Linked DNA regions of Homo sapiens: all the other regions are linked to region 1. Evidence: promoter capture Hi-C in 16 types of primary human blood cells and fetal thymus (Javierre and others, 2016). All regions are on one chromosome and are shown on one strand. The core of a region is centred on a gene start or on the middle of the fragment in contact, and the rest is flanking DNA. Distances in the headings are between cores, read along the strand shown.

Evidence for each region. The method cuts DNA at HindIII sites, captures the fragments that hold promoters and counts their contacts. A CHiCAGO score of 5 or more calls a contact.
Region 2: a contact is called between a fragment that was not itself captured here and the fragment with the promoter of SATB1-AS1 in region 1, in 4 of 17 cell types (activated CD4 T cells, non-activated CD4 T cells, total CD4 T cells and 1 more). The highest score is 7.3, in activated CD4 T cells.
Region 3: a fragment that was not itself captured here is called in contact with the fragment with the promoter of SATB1-AS1 in region 1 in 6 of 17 cell types (activated CD4 T cells, total CD8 T cells, naive CD8 T cells and 3 more); the score reaches 9.8 in activated CD4 T cells.
Region 4: a contact is called between a fragment that was not itself captured here and the fragment with the promoter of SATB1-AS1 in region 1, in 3 of 17 cell types (activated CD4 T cells, non-activated CD4 T cells and naive CD4 T cells). The highest score is 6.7, in activated CD4 T cells.

What each region holds. Positions count from the first base shown.
Region 1 is chr3:18,443,846-18,446,545 of GRCh38, forward strand. SATB1-AS1 (SATB1 antisense RNA 1) reads left to right here and starts at 1,392. Exons shown (of 7, transcript NR_125803.1): 1 at 1,392-1,597. It also overlaps a transcript of SATB1 not described here. RefSeq lists a silencer at 1,298-1,517. The HindIII fragment of the contact is 8,267 bases long and covers 1-2,700 here.
Region 2 is chr3:18,527,531-18,530,230 of GRCh38, forward strand. SATB1-AS1 (SATB1 antisense RNA 1) reads left to right here. Exons shown (of 7, transcript NR_125803.1): 7 at 2,451-2,584. Among named protein-coding and RNA genes, the nearest start is that of SATB1-AS1, 84 kb to the left of the region's middle. The HindIII fragment of the contact is 1,307 bases long and covers 599-1,905 here.
Region 3 is chr3:18,546,739-18,549,438 of GRCh38, forward strand. No RefSeq gene overlaps it. Among named protein-coding and RNA genes, the nearest start is that of SATB1-AS1, 100 kb to the left of the region's middle. The HindIII fragment of the contact is 3,106 bases long and covers 1-2,700 here.
Region 4 is chr3:18,565,748-18,568,464 of GRCh38, forward strand. No RefSeq gene overlaps it. Among named protein-coding and RNA genes, the nearest start is that of SATB1-AS1, 120 kb to the left of the region's middle. The HindIII fragment of the contact is 4,964 bases long and covers 1-2,717 here.

The sequences.
Region 1 (2,700 bases), core at 142-2,641:
TTCTGCCTCTTGCCCAACTCCAAACCCACATTCACGCCAGCAGCCTCTCCAGGACCGGCCTCGCTACAGCCAGCGAGGGCTCGAAATGAGGAGTGCCGCGGCTTTCAAACTCCGGGCTCCAACTTGAGCGCCCCGGCGCCCGAGTAGCTCCCGGGATGCAGAAGTTGCCACAAACTTCCCAGGCCCCTCTTCGCCGATGCTTACAATCAGCCGCGCAGGCAGGGAGCGGAGGGAGGCGGAGATGGACCGGGAAAGGATGCTGAGCAGACTCGCGATCCGGTGGGGGAACATTACCACTCCCGCAGCCCACTCCTCCAGGCACCTTACTGCCCGCCCGGCTCCAGAACGCACCGAGAGGCTCCCCTTTTCCCCATTTGCTTCCTTCGGTCTTTTCCACTCCCCTTTCCTTTTCTAAAAGGGGCCATACCGGTGACCTGAAGGAGTTTGTTCAGCCAGGGTCTATTGGGCAGGTGTGGTGGTGTGTCCACACCCAGACAGAAAACGAATGGCATCTTCAAATCCCCCATCCCGACCGCTCTCCCCTACTCTACCAGCCCACCCCTCCAAGGTCCGTCTGCGTGAGAAAAGGGGCTCGGAAGACCGTTGAAGCCCTGCGCCCACGAGAGGGGAGCCCAGCCGCCCCAATAGGGGACGAGGAGTGGGTGCTACGGAGAAGTTTGGATTGATTCCGGAAAAAGAGGGACAGAGATAAAACAGCAAGAGTAGCAAGGGGAAAAGGGAGGCAAAAGAGCAGAACTCACTCAGGCATGGACGTTGGGGGCGGCGGTGGCTGTCGAGTGCGGGCCTGAAACCAAGAACGGCTCCCCGGGCGGGCGCGCCGGCGTCGGACTTCCGAGGCGGCGGCTTCTGCCTCTCCTGCCGCCGCCGCCGCCGCCGGAGCTGCGGCTGCCGCGGAAGTTAATTGCAACTTGACTTCAAGTTGTCCTCTTTCCCCATACGAAGTGGGCGTTTAAAGGGGAGAGCGAGGCGAGGAGCGAGCGAGCGAGCGCGCGGGGCCAAGGGAAGGAAGAGAAGGAGGGGGAGGGAGGAGATGTTAACGGGCGGGGGGGGGAGAAGGGGGAGGGGGCGGCGGCGGGGGCGGGAGGGGGAAGGGGCCGGCGGGAGCTGCTCTCGTCTCGTCGGTCGCGGCGCCTGCAGTCTGGAGGCGCACCGGAGCGGCCGGGGCGTCCCCCGCGGGAGCCCGCAGCCACCCGGGACGCGCATCCAGACGTGGCGCTTCGGACCGGGCACGCTGCGCCCGGGGGCTCGGCGGACCCCGCGTAGCCGCCGCTTCGGAGCTTGTGCGGCGCGGGCTGGCCAGCGGGGCGGCCAGGGCCCGGCCCGCCTCCCCAGCGCCCGCCCGGCTTCTCCCCCTGGCGGTGGGAGCCTCGGCGGCCGCTGGCGACACTAGGCGCACTGAAGCCCGAGCCGAGCCGAGCCCGAGCCGCCGCCGCCGCCGCCGCTGCTGCGCACCGCTCCCGGGCTCCCTCCCAGCGCGCCGGCCGGGGTGTGGGGGGCGGCGGGCCGGAGGGGCGAGGGCGGGCCAGGGGGCGCACACGGGGGTTGGCGCGGAAGACAGGACCCTCAGCCTCGAGGGGTAAGTGTGGGCGCTTGGGGGTGCGCTTGGGGTGCGCGGCGCGGTTCTCGTCGCCCGCCAACCCTGCCCCCTCACCTCTCCGGGGGCCCCCAACACGCGCACTCCTCCTCTTGTCGCCTGCGGCTTCCTCTTGTTGCTTGTTGTTTGGCTGGGTTTTGGGGGGTGAGTAGAGGGGGTTACTGTAGTGTGTGTGCAGGCGGAGGAGGAAGTCAGGTGAGAGGCCGCGAAGCACCCCCACCCCAACCCAGCCTGCGTGGGGTGTATGCTTCCCCACTAGGGGCATTTGGGCCATTTTTTTTTTCTCCGTCAATGTTCGGTCGAGACGATGTTTCCTAGAGGGCCTCCTTCACTTACAGTCTGGTCTGTCCATCTCCCTTCATCCCACCCTCGTCCGTCTTAGCCCCTTGTCCAGGAGCCCTGCACCCCAAGTGAGGAGCACGTGGCGGAAGGAGGAGGAGGCCCTCTCTTGAAGACCCCCACGCTGTGACCCAGCCCATTAGTTTAAATATTTATCCTCACATCACCAGCTGTACTTTTCAACCCACTGGAACAAGACGCCTAGGCAAGGTCCAATTTCCCCAAAAAGCTGGGGGCAAAGCGGGAGAGATGAGGGTTTTATTGACATTGGGAGAGAAGGGGCCAAGGAACCTTCCCAAGTGGAGACTGAAACTCAAAAAATCTCTACAAAAAGACTAGGGTGACTGGAGGCTCAGGACTGCAGGCTTAGGAGAAACTGGAGCTCCATCAACTTTATTTCTCTCCCCCTGCCTCTCCTCCCCCCAGCTCTGAGGAAGCTAACAGGTCTTTTGTTTTGTATTGTGTAGCCTTTGGGAAATTTGCATTGAGTATGTCAACAGAAAATTACTACTGTTTACTCAAAGGGATTGCAGAAAGATAAAACATAGTAACATAGTTTTTACTTTTCCTCTTCTTTGTACGCTTGTGTGTATTTGGCAAGAAGTGTAGTTAGGTTCATGGCATGAACTGCAAAACGTCAGGTTGTAACAATAAGGACTGTAGAGCTGCCTAGGTGTATTTTTAGAAGCCGCACTTTCTTGAATTCCTTTCACACAAGGCTTGCTCTCTCATTAAGTCCCCATAAA
Region 2 (2,700 bases), core at 2-2,501, 84 kb after region 1:
GTACTTTTTTGTTAAAATATAATCATTTAGTTTAAAATTGAGATATCCTTGTTACTGGAGAATTTCAAATATATTTAACAACAACAATAAAAAGCTTAAATATAAATAGCAAATGTGAGTAAGCATGGGATAATTGAATGGCTTTTTATATTTTTGGAAGTCAATTCCATCTTCATAGATTAATTCTTCCAGGTTTTAATTCACATTGAGTTCTAATGGCTGACACCATTTTTCCTCCTCTGTATCTTCTTCAGAATATGGACATCTTGGGTTGTTGTGAGAATGGAGTTACCAAAGTTATAATCAGTTAAACACTAAGCAAAGTGTTATGGCAAAGTGTAGTCAAGTGCATTTCCTGTCAGATGGTCAACACCTTAAGTGCTTGAGGTTGAAGAGAATTGTTTTCATCTCTGTTGATAGGAAGAACCAATGATGTGATCCCTGGATACTGGCAATTGTTGCCCAAGAAAACCTCTCCCCTTGCTGTGGGACTGCTGGGCACCCAAATAATGCACCCAAATAATTTGATAGCTCTTGTTACACAGCTCTTCTTGGACTAAAAGGCCCTCAGCATTCCTGTCAATTTCTACACTCCTGAAGCTTCATCTGGTAATTCCCTGACTTATGCAGTACCACCCCACTCCTAGAGTGTCTTTAGAGGTGTTTGCTTTCTTCTTAAAGCTATTATCCTCTTGTTCTTCGAGGGCTTATTCTTAGGGGACTTGGAGGGCTTATTAAGCCCTAAGACTCAATCATTAGCAACCAAAAAATTAACTTCTACTCTCCCAAGGTCAGGGACAGCATAATCTTAAAATACAGTGGTTAGGGAAAATATTTGCATAACGTATTTTAAAGAATGCACAGGAAGGGAAGGCAAATATAGAGGAGGAAGATGATTTAAGAGAGTAGAGCAGAAAATATACAGCTGCCACAAAAATTTAGAATTGCAGAACCAGCTAAAGGTAGGTGTTTGTTCTGCTTACTAATAAAGCATACACCAAATACAATTATTTGGAAGCCTATAATTTTTTAGGGTAAAATTTTTTAGGTGTTCTTCTAGTCTTACCCCATTATTTTAAAGATGTAAAAACTGGATCCCAAAGAGGAGAAATGACTTGGTTAAGCTCACACAGAAACTAGAATCCTACATCCTTTGTATTGTATCAAATGCTTTTATGATTACCATATGCTGCCTTTTTAAGGCCTGTGATCTCCAGAGAGAGATTTCAGCTTTTTGATATGCCAAACTAAGGAATTCTTAGTTGGCCTTTTTTTTCTTCTTGAGTTTGTGCTTGCTTAACCTAATGAGTAGGTAATAACCCTGTGTTTCCGAATTTCTTAAATCAGACTTTTTGGGGGATGAAATTTTGTTAATGATTCTGTTAAGAAATAATGTCTTTTACACTTTCTCAGCTGAAAGGCAAGGGGATGCAGGATGGAGGTTAGAAATACACAGCTGCCATAGTCTAATTCTTATATAGATATTATTGAGTGATTAAATGATCAAGAAAACTGCCTACTGCTTCTCTTTACTTTTCTGTATTTAGCAGGAACATGACCTTTTCTTTTTGATCCATAATGAGAGAGATGAAGAGAATATGAGAGAATATATGAGAAATGAAAGTGTGCTAAGAATCCACATAATTAAACACCCAAACACTTAGTTTATCATTCAAGATCCTTCATGATCTTGCCAATCTATTTTCCCAACTATATCCCATATTATCTCCCTTTGCATACAGTTTAATCCATACACTAAATAACTTGCTATTCTTTAAATGCTTTGTTTTTCTACCTCTGCCTCTATTTTCATACTGCTTTCTCTACCTGACATTCTCTGTCCCCAAACTGTTGCTATTCAAATTTGACTTAGCTTGGGTTACCTGAGATATAGACACTGAGACAAGCTTTTAAGGTTGAGTAATTTGTTAGAGAGTAAAGGTAGGAGAATGATTAAGTGAAAGAATGAAAGAAAGTTTATTTTGGAAGAGCATGTTATCAAGACAGCTTTCAGTTCCAGGAAGCAACTGAAGCATAATCCCACAGGGAAAGCTCTTGAAGCCCAGACAAGCTATTCTGCCTTAAAGTTATCCTACCCAAGGGGTAAGGGAGCTAAGTATTTATACACCAACACTCTTCAGATATTGCTTGAGAGCTGCTCCTAGAGACATTAATTCCAGAAGCTTCCAACCTGTTGAACAGGTGGCAGAGTGAGTTTCAGCAGTGAGAGGACACCCTTAACAAAGAACTACTGGTGCTAGGAGTTGGAAGTTGGGCCAAAGGGAAACAGATGCTAACAGGGAGGTAATATGAGAGGCACTGACAGCATCTGCTACAAAACTGTCCCCAAAAGAAAAGATGGGATACAGCTGGTTATGCTGCAGTTAAAAAGCAACCAAGTATTAATGGCTTAATACCACAAAAGTTTATTTTTCACTTCTTGTTATCAGGAGACCTCTGTGGATTCTATAACTCAAAGACCCAGGCTGACGGCTGGTGGAATAGCTACCATCTCAAACATGGCGTGATGCTGCATCAGAGAGAAAAATAAGCTCTTGCATTGACAATGAAATGTCTACCCTGTAGTGACTTGTGCTTACTTCCACTCACAAGTGATTGCCCAGAGCTACTTACCTGGCTCCAATCTACCACTGGGTGTGTACTTGCAATCTACCATGTACCTAGAAGATGAGAGAAACA
Region 3 (2,700 bases), core at 27-2,526, 100 kb after region 1:
TCTTCTCATTGCATTTTTAGTAACACAGACTTTTCTCTCATTTGTGGCTCAGGTTTCCTTCTTACTACTCTAGAAAGTATCACGGCTGACTTTTGGTCACTCTCATGGCTTGACTCAGATTCATCTTCATGGGTTTGAATCATTATTCTGGCCAAAGGGTTGTAATATTGGCATTATCCAGGTCTGAGTCACATGTTCATCTCAGAATCAGATGGTACGTTCAATTAGACTCAGACTGACATTGGGGAAGGGATATTTCCCCATTACAAAATTGAGGTGTTGTTTTCAAAAGAAGGAGAATGGATGTTATATAGGCAAAAGCCACAGCTATCTCTCAGAGATCCTCTTTTTAGTTTTATCCAAAATGGAGTCAATGGTTAAAACTATTGTACTAAAAATATTTTCTTATGTAATAATTCATTTCTTCATTTTATGTTCATCAACTGTCTTTCAAGACACAATAGTGATCCAATATAATTACAGATCAACCATCCATCCAACCAACCAACACAAAACCTGGATATTGTAGGTTGCATGTATAATTCTCTTGGACTTTCTGATAAATTGGAAATAGCTTTGGGCCCTTCAACCCTGTCCCTACTTTCTCTATCATCTTAGAAGCCTGGGCTGGAAACAGCTACTAACGTTTGCTTTAATACAGCTTTTTAAAGACCTAACTATGCATCAGAATCACCAGCTGTTATTAGAAAATACTGATATCCAGGCTCCATGCTCAGAGGTTCTTATTTCATTAACCTGTAGAAAGAATCAGGCATTGGAATATTTTTGAAAACACTCTAGTGAGTCTCATAGGCTGACAGGGTTGGGAACGTCTGTAAGAATTGCTCCCTTTGCAGTGACTTTAAGGGGCTCTGTGAATCAGGAAATACAAACAATGAACACAATTATACCTGCCATAGTTCCAGTCGGCAACTATTGACAGCTGCACAATTCCCTCCAGGTATACATATCCCCCTGTCCATCACACCTCTGCAAAACCCAGCAAACACAACTGTAATCACAATAGAGAAGTTCACAGAAAGGTTGACACCAAAGATGTGTTTTTCCTTTTGCTCATGTGCTAATTTTCTTTTCACATTTATAAACACTGAGTGGTTTATATTTTTGGCAGGGTTGTGCTTCTGAGTTAATATGCATTGTGAGTGCCAGTTAAGCAAAGTTTTCCCAAGAATTTAACATTGTTTGTGGTTTAGAGGTCACTCATAATGGCTTAAAGAGTTTAGCTGGAGTTTTGATCTTGCATTTTTTGCTTTTCCTACAGAATGCTACTATTTTTTCTTAATTAATTAAATATCTTTCTTTAGGAATGTACAGGGTGTACCATGAACAATTCTGACATGTGATTTAATCTATGTGGGACTACATTTTAAATACATTTGGGAAGGATTGAACAATGAAGTGGAGCCCATCAATATTGGTACTGAAAATGAGACAGTAAGTTGATATAGAGCAAAATCCACAGAAAATTTAGGAAACCACAGAATGCATGTGATATCTAAACTTAGATATCACATGTTATGTTTAATTATCTCCCAAATCATTAAAATATTGTGGGAATTTAATTATTCTGGAATATAAAAAATACATATTAAATTGTTTTCCTCTCAGTTGTACTTTAAATCATTATTTTAGGTTTGGAAAATCACAATAACATAAAAATAGAGCAAATAAGACTTGTAGGGAAATAAAATTCAGGAGTGATTCTCTGTTTTCACTTCAAAGAGATCATTGTTCTGTCTTATAGATTGTGAGAGGATTACAGGAAATTAAAGTTCTAGAGTAAATAAAACCATATTTGAATTTTCCCAATGTCACAGTTCAAACCCCACAACCTGGCACAGTTGACATTCTAATTGAGTCTATAAATTGAGTCAGCTTTTGGAATTGATGTATAAACTGAAAGATAACTCATGAATTGTAATTGTGTTTGATTTGAATTTTATTACTTTTGGCCAAAGGCATTACAAGATTTACACGGTAAGAAGGAGATACAGTATGGCCTCCAAAATGATTTATGAAAATTAAAATAGAACAAAGATAGAATGAGGTATTGAATGTATGAATTGGTAGTTATAGAGATGATATCTTAAAATAACTTACCAGGTCAATAACAATTGTTTCTTTCCTGATGTAGAGACCATTTGATATTTAGCTAGGTTATATACAATAATTCAGCCATGGAAATTAGCAAAATCTGAAGGTATAATGAGAAAAAGAATAAATATGAACATTAATTAAATCTCAGGCCCTGACTTAAAGGAGTAATTCTTCACTTGTTTAAGATACCTATGTGAGATGAATCATTCCACTAAAAATACACACTGTCTGAGAGTTCCAGTTGCTCCATATACTCACCAGCATTTGGTATTATCAATCTTTATAATTGTAGACATTTTAGTAGAAGTGTAGTGGCATTTCATCATCGTTCTAATTTGCATTTCCCTGATGACTAATGATATTGAGCATTTATTCAGATGCTTTTTTTGCCATATGTTTATCTTCTTTGAAGAAATATCTGTTCAAGTCTTTTGCCTATGTTTTCATTGGGTGTTTGAGTTCTTATCATTGACTCGTAAAAGTTATTTATGTATTCAAATGCAAATTCTTTTTCACATATATGTATTGTAAATATTTTCTCCCAGTCTGCTGCTTGTCTTTTTGTTTCCTTAGTGCTGTCTT
Region 4 (2,717 bases), core at 176-2,675, 120 kb after region 1:
TTACAATCAGGTCCCCAACCCTCCTGAAATGGAGCCTTTTTGAGAAGCCAGTCATACATTAATTCTATTGAAATAAATGCTTTACTTGTTAGTGAAACAAAACAGTTTGAATTCACTAAGGTCACACTAAACCAGGCCTTTGCTCTGAAGTTAAAGGCTCTAAATAGATCAAAACATTCTTTGTAATGCCCTTGAGTGATCCATTTATTGCACTTAACTTTCTCATTACTTAAATGCAAAAGACTAAAGTTGAAGAGGCCAAAACATACATTTGGAAATTTCAGAAAACATAATAGACCGAGAGAGATAATGTAATACTTCTCCATGAAGAGGAGAGCTTGAATATCTCGATTACAGCTTCGCTATCCATCCCTCACACATTCAAATCCAATATATGTGCTTTTATTAATGCGTGAGTGCAGAGATATGCATAACTGAATATTGATAAGGCAGGATACTGTATATTTATGAGGTTTTATATGTTTTCTCTTTATGTTTTATTTGTATTTATATCCAGTGCTGCATACTGTATATATGTGTTTATAAGTGTAGCAGCTACGAAAAGAAATAAGATTTTAATCGATTTCATAATATTTTGCAACCACATATACACTACCATCTATTTCACTGAATGTGCATTGGTATTCGGAGGAGTATGACACTTTCTACTGGTCTCAGTGAGAACTGGTAATAAATATCTTAGTGCTTAAGTGAGATTCTATAAACAACCTTGTGTTATAATGCAGCCATATCCTTGAAATTTTACATGCATAAAAGTCAGAAATTTGGAGTTGTCATAGTAACATTAATTCTGGCCCTTTCCAAAAGTGCAGTATTTTGTCATATAGCATAAAATGTTAATGGTTGTGTCTCTGTGACTCGGCAATGAGACTGAGTTACATTTGCCATGGAAATCATAAGTTTGGAGAGCTTTACTGTCGACATTTAAAATCAGAGGCATAACATGTTGCGCTAAATTTCCTTAATTAAAAAAAAATACAAGACACAGTAACAAACTGGACAAAAGGGTAAAGAACGATGATTATTATTTTTGAAGTGAATTGAACAAATGGAAGAAATAAACAGGAAGATGTTAAAACATTTGTTGGGAAGAACTTAGTGACCCAGACGTATTTATTCAAATACAGTAGACATTTGAACAAAGGCTCCTGTATCAAGTTTGGTGCATTTTGCCATGAAGATACGAGTCTCTGTTCACCATAAGCAACATCTGGATAAAATCCTGCAGCAAACAAACAAGGCAGAATGTCATTTTTCTGTACCAAGGGATCTATAAGAAGGAAATAAATAGTTGTCTTTTGGGGACAGGTTAAAAAGTACCTGTCTGAGACAGATACCTGATTGGGAGTGGTTTTTAAAATGTCTTTTCTAGCTCTATGGTTCTATACTCTTTAATACAAGTGAATATTTCTCAGTGTATATATAAAAACTGAAGCTATGAGCCGGATGCAATGCTGATGTTCATTGCACAGATGAAGGTAAAGGAAGTCTGAGTTGTAGGACTCTCTGCTGGAAGCACAGGAAAGTCAGGAGTTGTGATGAGATGGGAGAAGAGAGATAAAAATGGCCTTGTGTCTCCTCTGGCTGTCTCTCTGCCAGTTCTAAGGATGATGGCAGCATCTTAGATAAAGGTACCTTGGCACTAGAACTAAAAAGTGGCTTTACATGAAACCAAAGTTAACCTAAGCATATGTGGTCTTTCAAATGTGCTTATAGTGGTTTTGGTTCCTATGCTAGTCACATCTCTTTTGAGACCAGTGATGACAGTATAATACTGTCTTCACTCTTTTTTGGAACCCAAGTCAACCTACCCCTCTGCTTGTCTCATACTCTTTGTCCTTCTAAAACTATTACTTCTCCTGGCAACTTTCATACATCTTTTACTATAGTTCCCATCTACACAAGAATGTTTAGCCAGAATTCTATGAGAATCTGTGATAATATTGATTAGAATCTATCCATATAGCAAAGTTTCCTCATTTGATAGAAAAAAAAAGCCATACATTTTAAATAAAACACTTTTCTTTTGTAAGTACTATATTCTCTTGAGTCTAGGAGGGCTGGCTATTTGAATTGGTATGTGCATGGTAAGTGGTAATTTCCCCCTTTCCCCTCCAAAGAAAACTGTTGTTACGTTGATGACACACCTTGTAATTGGGGGCATCCTAGAATTCAGGAAATAGAACCATTTCCATATCCTTCCTAGTCTGCTTTGCTGGATAACTTATGAATTAGACCACACATAATTTGAAAAGGATGTATTCTATTTATTTACATTCTGAAATAGTTCTGGTGCATGATGCTATGAATGTGATTGCAATTGTTATTTTAATTTTAGTTCACTCCTAAACCCATTGTGATTTGATTCTTCACCTATTACACTCTGGTAGGTATCAAAGGTCACACCTACCACCCAATATCCACCATCCATGGAAATGTCCTCATCTTTACACTTCCTTGTCTATTACATTTCTGCTGAAACCATTAACCACACTTCCTTTCTAAATTTTTTCTCCTCCTTAGCTTTCCTTAAGTTATTTTTCGTTTTTAGTTTTTTTTACCCACCTATTCTCATGCTTTCCTTTATAGCTCCTCTGCCTCCTCCCACTCTTAAATCTCACCTCTTTCTAGAATTTTTATGTGCTTTTCCTATTACCTACTGAATTATTTTACCACTCTCTGAGCTATAATTATCA